Linked DNA regions of Homo sapiens: region 1 is linked to region 2. Evidence: promoter capture Hi-C in 16 types of primary human blood cells and fetal thymus (Javierre and others, 2016). All regions are on one chromosome and are shown on one strand. Each heading gives the region's core, a stretch centred on a gene start or on the middle of the fragment in contact. The rest is flanking DNA. Distances are from core to core; before and after follow the strand shown.

Region 1 (3,922 bases), core at 355-2,854, 110 kb after region 2:
GGCAACTAATAGAAAAGGGAAACTATCACTCACCAGCTTTTCTTTGGAGAAACATCGCCCCTGTATCCTAACCCGAATCTCCAGAGAGCTATAAATACTTGCATTCCTCAGACGGCTGTTGGTTCTAATTCTACATCAGTGTCCATTTCCTTCACTAATGACCACTTTCATGTAATTAAATTTGGAATTATAGGATCTTAATGTTGGGAAAATGCATTTTCAACTGAAATGTTCTCTAGCATGAATGAAAGACCAGAACGAGGCCTCTTCTGATACGAGGAATAAAACAGCCATCTCTCGTAGGCAGCAAATGTTATCTACTTCCATGTTAAATAAGGCCAAGTAATTTCCAAGTAATCTGTATTCTGAAATTAAAAGTTACTGTTTTTGAGCATCTACTAAGTGCCAGGCATTTTACTATTTTATGTCTAACCCTCAGATACACATGAAGCAGGCACTGTGAACCCTGTTTCACATATGAGAAAACGGCTCAGAGAGGTTAAATTACACAATATCACAACACTGATACTTTAGGAAAGTCCGTCTTGAGATGTCAGAGCACTTTAAAAAGGAGGAAACAAATTCATTAATGGTAGAAAAAAAGAGAAGAAAGAAAAAAAAAAGAAAGAAAGCAAAACAAAAACAAAACCAAAACAAAAAGCTGGCAACAACTTAAATGCCTAATAATAAAAGATTGATAAAGTATATTATGGTGAAATATATGATGGGCTATTCTGCAGCTAGTAGAAATACTAATCTTATGAATAAGATTAGTCCAATATTATTACATTAGATGAATCTTATGAGTAAGCTTAGTCCAATATTATTAGATTGGATGAAAGTTTCCGACTGTTAAGTAAAAGAAAGAAGGCTAAAAACAGTACCTATGCTATAATTCCAATTTTATAAACAAAAATATGGAGATATATGCATAGAAAAAAAGTCAGGAAATACATCTTTTTTTTTTTTGGTGAAAGAGTTTCAGTTGGCTTTGGATTTTCCTCTTTTGAGCACCTCTGAGGTGCTACATATGGGCATTTGGCAGGAATTTATTTATTTTTATTTATTTTTTATTTTTTATTTTTTTATTTTTTTATTTTATTTTATTTTTTTTTTGAGACGGAGTCTCGCTCTGTCGCCCAGGCTGGAGTGCAGTGGCGGGATCTCGGCTCACTGCAAGCTCCGCCTCCCGGGTTCATGCCATTCTCCTGCCTCAGCCTCCCAAGTAGCTGGGACTACAGGCGCCCGCCACTACGCCCGGCTAATTTTTTGTATTTTTAGTAGAGACGGGGTTTCACCGTTTTAGCCGGGATGGTCTCGATCTCCTGACCTCGTGATTCGCCCGCCTCGGCCTCCCAAAGTGCTGGGATTACAGGCGTGAGCCACCGCGCCCGGCCTATTTTTATTTTTTTGAGACAGAGTCTCACTCTGTTGCCCAGGCTGGAGTGCAGGGGTGCAATCTTGGCTCACTGCAACCTCCGCCTCCTGGGTTCAAGCGATACTCCTGCCTCAGCCTCCCGAGTAGCTTGGACTACAAGCACCCGCCACCATACCCAGCCAGCTATCTTTTGCATTTTTAGTAGAGACAGGGTTTCACCATGTTGGCCAGGCTGGTCCCGAACTACTGACCTCATGTGATCCACCTGCCTTGGCCTCCCAAAGTGCTGGGATTACAGGCATGAGTCACTGCGCCCGGCCTTGGCAAGAATTTAAAAAAGAAAAGGAAAGAACATGACCGAGTTGATGATTAGCATTTGTGTGTTGGAGAAAAGGTGAGCAGATCAGTGTTTGATGGCTGGAAGAGGATGGCTGTGTGTCTGACTCAGCCATGTCTATGCAGGGACTTTTGTTTTTGGCAGGGTGCTGGAGGTGGTGGGAGATCCGTGGGCAGCAAGAAACATATTTTCTTATAAGAGAACATTTCTGTGGATGGACTCTGATTCAACTGTTGACATCCCTCCTCAATCCAGTCTTGATTTCATTCTCCTCCTTGGATCTGCAGTAAATTACAGACTCTAACGTAATTGATATAAATTTAACTGTTTGTATTTTTAAAGCCAGGCTGCCTATTTATTCTGCTCAGCTCAGACAGAGTTTAAACACCTATCTACCCCACCTGCTGATGAGTTTCAGCTGTTGAGGCAATGAAGGTTAGAGAAGAAATACTTTTCCCCTTCCAGACCTTTGAAAATGTTCATGCGGACTGGGTAAAAAACATGACAGCGGAGAGTCAGTGCCTGTGTGTGTTTCTGAGGCATATTCCTGAAGTAGGCGAAAATCTTAATTGCAAATTCTTTTATTCTTTTGACCATTAAAGCACTGCTTTACCACTTTTTATGTTCATGTTTAGAAACATTTTGGGGCCACCATTTAGGCTTGGTTCCATGGTAAGCTTCATCTCAAAAACACTGGCTTTCATGATTTAGTTTGTGACTGTTTGAATTCTACGCAGTCGTGAAAAAGAATGCAGTGGATCAATAAGATTGCATTGATTCTATGAAGCATGGTTATTTACATTTTGCAGTCTTTATTTTTTATTCTTTGAAACAGAGTTTCGCTCTTGTCACCCAGGCTGGAGTGCAATGGGGTGATCTCGGCTCACTGCAACCTCTGCCTCCAGGGTTAAAGCGATTCTCCTGCCTCAGCCTCCTGAGTAGCTGGGATTATAGGCGCCCGCCACCACTCCTGGCTAATTTTTGTATTTTTAGTAGAGATGGGGGTTTCATCATGTTGGCTGTGCTGATCTTGAACTCCTGACCTCAGGTGATCCACCTGCCTTGGCCTCCTAAAGTGCTGGGATTACAGGCGTGAGCCACTGCTCCCAGCCTAAAATAGGGATGTATCTCAGCTGCTGTACCTCAGGTAGGTGGTGGCATGATTGCAGTACTTAACTCTATCAGCCCACAAACCAGGTAATAATCCCCAAGGAGGAGGTGGGCACTGGTTGTCCACTCATGCCTTCTGACAAGAACAACAAAGCTCCAGCATCAAACCTTGCAGATGGGGGGACGATGGCTTGGAAGGTGATGCACTCCATCTCCCGATGGCCCAAAAGCTGAGACATGGCAGCTCTCAGGTAAAGTGGTTAAGTGGAGAGCTGGAAAGTTTAGGACTACATTTGCCAACATGTTTCACCTTTTCTTCCTCTTTTTGTGCACAAGAAACATATGATAAAAGCGTATGTCCAAACAAGTCTAAAATTACTCTTTCAATAACTAAAATAAAAACTCTAAGTGTTAAGAAGGCATGTGTCACCGTTTAAATGGCAGTAGTTTTTCTTTTTTAGTGGTACATAAAATAACTATTTGTCTTACAATCAATGGTGTCTAAGAGTAAATAAAAAGGATAACGAAATACTGTAGCAGCACCTACTAATGCAGCACTGACTCTCGTCCAGGCACTCTTCTGAGTGCTTTGCTGGTCTTCCTCACAGTAACCCCATGAAGTAGGCACAATTATTACCCTATTTTACAGATGAGGAAACTGAGCCACAAGTGAAGCCATTAGTAAGTGCTAGTAAGCGGCAGAGTCAAGATTCCAAGCCAGACCCTCTGGTTCCCAATACCCCGCTCCTACCCACCACGCTACACTGCCTGCCTAGTGAACAGACCCGAAACATGTTGATAAGTGAAAAAGCATGGTGATTAACAGAGCATGTGGATACACCACCTCATGATCGATGGTGGAAGAACAAATACAAATCCTGGAACAGTGATTGTCTCTGGTGACAGAAGCAGGGAGACTGGAAGAATGGGGGACAAATATGGCAGGATCTGAGCTTTTTATAGTGTTTTCAATGACACTGATTTTCTAATGCCATACATAAATATTCTGTCTACTTAGAAAACACTTCACAAATTATAGCCATTGGATCTTGTTTTCCTCTTTGTAATCTGTTGATTGCACTAATGGTTTCTGTTCT
Region 2 (3,977 bases), core at 3-2,502:
CACCCATCCATTCATGCTTGGCACCCACCTCCCTCAACCCATTTCCAACACTTTTCCTTCAACACCTGAGAGATGACTCGAGTTATTACAAAGCGCCACTCTATTCTAGGGCTAGAAGCCAGCTCCCTGTGAGGGTCTAGAGATGAGCTTGGACAAGGGTGTTGAACCCAACACTCACCCAGAGAAAGCCTACATGTTTTTGATCAGGGAAACCCAGACCAGGTGGTGAAGTGGCTGAGTCAGACTTGGGACCCAGTGTTTTAAAAACAGTGGAGTGAGAAAGCCTGACTTTTTTTGTTTTTTTAAGACGGAGTCTCACTCTGTGGCCCAGACTGGAGTGCAGTGGCACGATTTTGGCTCACTGCAACCTCCACCTCCGAGTTCAAGCAATTTTCCCTGCCTTAGACTCCCGAGTAGATGGGATTACAGGCACCCACCACCACACTCGGCTAATTTGTGTATTTGTTAGTAGAGACGGGGTTTCACCATGTTGGTCAGGCTGGTCTTGAACTCCTGACCTCAGGAGATCTGTCCGCCTTGGCCTCCCAAAGTGCTGGGATTACAGGCGTGAGCCATTGCACCCGGCCAAGCCTGACTTTAGAACTGGCTAGGATCTGCCTTCTGTTTGTAGCTGAGGGACCCTAGGCAGGAAAGCAGGAAATCTCCCACGCTGGGCCTCAGTTTCTCCTCTACGAAGTGGGCATAATGATAGCTCATCAGGCTGTTTCGAGATGAAAAGAGACATGCCCTATTTAGCACACGGTGAGACCCCTATTCTTATTCCTCTTTGCAGGAGACGGCTGCTGCTGTTCCAGTCTCTCCTTAGGCAGACTTGAGTTTCTACCCACTCTTCCCAAGCAGCCGCCCCTCCGCACCCGAGCGAGCCAAAGACCTGGCGGGCTGAGTACTCACTGCGCGCTGGACACATGCTGAGCCGGCACTGCAGGGACACAGGGCGAGCCGCTGGATGCAGACCTGTGGCCGCGGCAGGTGAGGGCGGTGGCTGGGAGGCTGACCCAGGGGGCCACATTTTTATAATTGTCCCGAGGCGCGGCAGGACTTTCCCGGGACTCTGGTCTCTTGCTTTCTGTCTCCTTCTGTGTCTCTCTCTACATCAGCTTCTCGGTGACACGTGCGGTGCGGCCGGCCCGCGGGGCTTGCGGCGCTTTCGGATTAACTCCCGGGGTGCCCGGCCGCAGCCGTTCCGGGACGGCCCCGCCGCCTCCAGCTCGGCCCAAAATGAAAGCGAAATGTTCGCAGTTACTGCGCGGGGTCCACAGGCGGGCGGGACACCCCGCCCACCACCCTGGGTCCCCGGCCTTAGCCGGACGCCCCGTGTCTAAGCTACCCCGCCCCGCAGCTGTGCAGCGCCCCCTGCCGACGTAGAGAGAGGAGTGCCTCCCACTTTGCATGTCCTGCGTAGGGATGGGCCCTAACCACGACCTCCAGCCTAGTACTGGAAGGGGTAGGCAAATCATTCACTCATCATCGTTCCTTTAGATGGCTCACTAGATGCCAGGCCGACGTTGCACCAGGTGCAGGACACCCAGGGAGAACAGGACCCTTGGGGCATTGCCACACTAAATCAGACTCAAGGCGTTTTGTTCACAGGTCTTTTCTGAAACCTGAAAAGGGATGAGAGCTGGCTGACTCTGCAATTATTACTCTTGTAGAGAATCCAGTTTAACGATAGGATGAATACACAGAGTCCTGGGAGGAAAGACCTAGAGAAAGAGCCCACGCTCAGCCGGAGCAACGGGGTCCAGGAGTCAGCAAAGGCTCCCGGGAGCAGGCAGGGGCCCCAACCTGAGTGTTAAAAACAAGCAGGCATTAGACCGCTTCCAGCGGGAGGGCACGCAGGGTCTAGCCAGGGGAAACAGGGATCAGAAGCGCAGTCATGAAGGGTTGAGGGAGGTGGGGGTCTAGGTGTCCTTGCAGGGTGTGAGGCTGGAGGGCTGGATGGGGCCATGCCATGAGGGCAGGGGATGCCATACTAAGGAGTGTACTTTCTGTGCTGAGAGTAGTGGGGAGTCTTCCTGGGTTTTAGGCGGGAGATGTGGCAGAATTTGCATGATGGGGGGATCCCTTCAGCCACAGCATGAAGGATGGATCCAGGGGTCAGGAGTAGAGCAGAGGGAAGAGTTGACAAGGTGTGGCCAAGTCCTTATTCAGTATGGAGAACACAGGGTGGGCAGGAGGGACTCTCAGAGGGCTTGTGGGCCAAGGCTTGGTAGCTCCTCAGGTGAGCGGGAGAGGAAGGCCCTGAGAATGGGGAATGGAGATTGTTCTAGCTTTACAGGGATTACTGTATAAGAGGACTGAGTTTGGAGGAGATGGTGAGAAGTTCCATTTTGGATGTGCTGGGTTTGAGGTTCCTGTGGGACTTTTTAGTTCAGTTGTTTTTCCCACAGGCATTAGTCACCCTAGGCGTGGGTAGTGGGGAGGATGTGTTTGATCTCTGACTTGGAGCTTCCAAAGGGCCTGACTACACCCAGGCCCTAGGACCTAATAACTGGAGCTGCCTTCTGGGTGGCTCATCTGCTCGAAGCTGATGAAGCACGGCTGTAGGGAGTTTTAGGTGTGTGTAAAATAAGAGAAATGGTTGATCTCTAAGGCCCCTTCTAATGCTGCTGTCTGAGAATTCCCCCACGGGATACAGAGTAATCCATTGTCAGAAACAATTGCGTTTAGCAGTTTGTCTAGAGCAAATGACAGGTGCAGAGCTGTGTTGTGGCCACAAGGGTTTAGTGTGGAGTTAAATGTACTTAAAGTCAGGATGAAGACAAGTGTATCACAACTGAGCTGTTTCTCCCCTGGAAGGGCCATCTCCTATACAAAAGTAATTTCTGTTGCTTAGATGAGCACAGGGCCACTGTTAAAAATGGATTATTGGCTACCAGACACAGTTTCTAATTTACATTTTTGTGAAATAGTTTCCTGAAGTGCTCCATGTCCTCTAGCTAAGATGAAATGAAAACCTTCTTCTAGGAATACATGATTTTTCTATAAGTGACAGTCTTAGCTCACAATCACTACTTCACAGTGTGTAGCATTGTCGTGGAGGTCTCGGCCAATGCTATAAGGAAAGAAAAAGAAATGAGAGCTTTAAACATTGGAAAAGAAAAGGTAAAACTGTCACTTTTTACAGTTGATATACAAAAAGAAAAAAAATTAATAGACTATTAGAACTAAGAAGAGAATTTAACAACATCATGCAATACACATATCAACTTAAAAAAAATCAGCCGATTTTCTTTGTATCTGCAACAATCCATCAGAAAATGTAATAAAAACAAGATGACATGCATAGAAGCAGCCAAACTATAAAGTAACTGACTGTAGATACAGAGGCAGTATAATGGCTAAGAGTATGGACTAAACTATGTTAATCCAGGTTCTGCTACTTACTTGCTGTGTGTTCTTAGGTGAGTTATTTATCTCTCTGGGCTCAGTTTCCTCATCTGTTAAATGATGATAATAAAAGTACCTACAGTATAGAGTTATTATGATTATTACATGAGCTTGGATAACTACAGAATAGTGTTTGGAGAAAAATTTTAAAGTTCAGTCAAGAATATAGTGTGATTTAATTAAATAATTCTATACCCTTGGGTGGAAGGTTTCTCTATATAGAAAGCTTAAGCCTCTTTTCGTTAATTCACATGCTCAATGTAATTCCAATACAAGCTACAAATAAATTTTCTCAGAAACTTAATAATAAGCCTACTCTAAAATACAGATGTAATAAAATCTATGACTAAGTTAAAAAAATTTTTTTTGAGACATGGTTTTACTGTATCACCCAGGCTGGAGTGTAGTGGTGGCACAGTCACAGCTCACTGCAGCCTTGACCTCCTGGGCTAAAGTGATCCTCCCACTTCAGCCTCCTGAGTAGCTTGGACCACAGGCAACACCATCATGTCCAGCTAATTTTTATTTTTGTATTTTGTAGAGACGGAGTCTAGTTTTGTTGCCTA

Evidence for each region. The method cuts DNA at HindIII sites, captures the fragments that hold promoters and counts their contacts. A CHiCAGO score of 5 or more calls a contact.
Region 1: a fragment that was not itself captured here is called in contact with the fragment with the promoter of IL12A in region 2 in 5 of 17 cell types (monocytes, M1 macrophages, M0 macrophages and 2 more); the score reaches 8.6 in monocytes.

Annotation. Positions count from the first base shown.
Region 1 is chr3:159,875,972-159,879,893 of GRCh38, reverse strand. The region is part of intron 5 of IQCJ-SCHIP1 (IQCJ-SCHIP1 readthrough); the gene reads right to left. All of the region lies in intron 3 of SCHIP1 (schwannomin interacting protein 1), which reads right to left. Among named protein-coding and RNA genes, the nearest start is that of IQCJ-SCHIP1-AS1, 110 kb to the right of the region's middle. The HindIII fragment of the contact is 1,581 bases long and covers 814-2,394 here.
Region 2 is chr3:159,986,110-159,990,086 of GRCh38, reverse strand. It overlaps IL12A (interleukin 12A), which reads right to left and starts at 1,252. Exons shown (of 7, transcript NM_001397992.1): 1 at 913-1,252. The coding sequence starts at 928. IL12A-AS1 (IL12A antisense RNA 1) reads left to right here. Exons shown (of 10, transcript NR_108088.1): 9 at 794-990. RefSeq lists enhancers at 992-1,041, 541-1,041, 1,042-1,542, 2,394-3,593 and silencers at 1,162-1,211, 1,282-1,481. The HindIII fragment of the contact is 5,775 bases long and covers 1-3,639 here.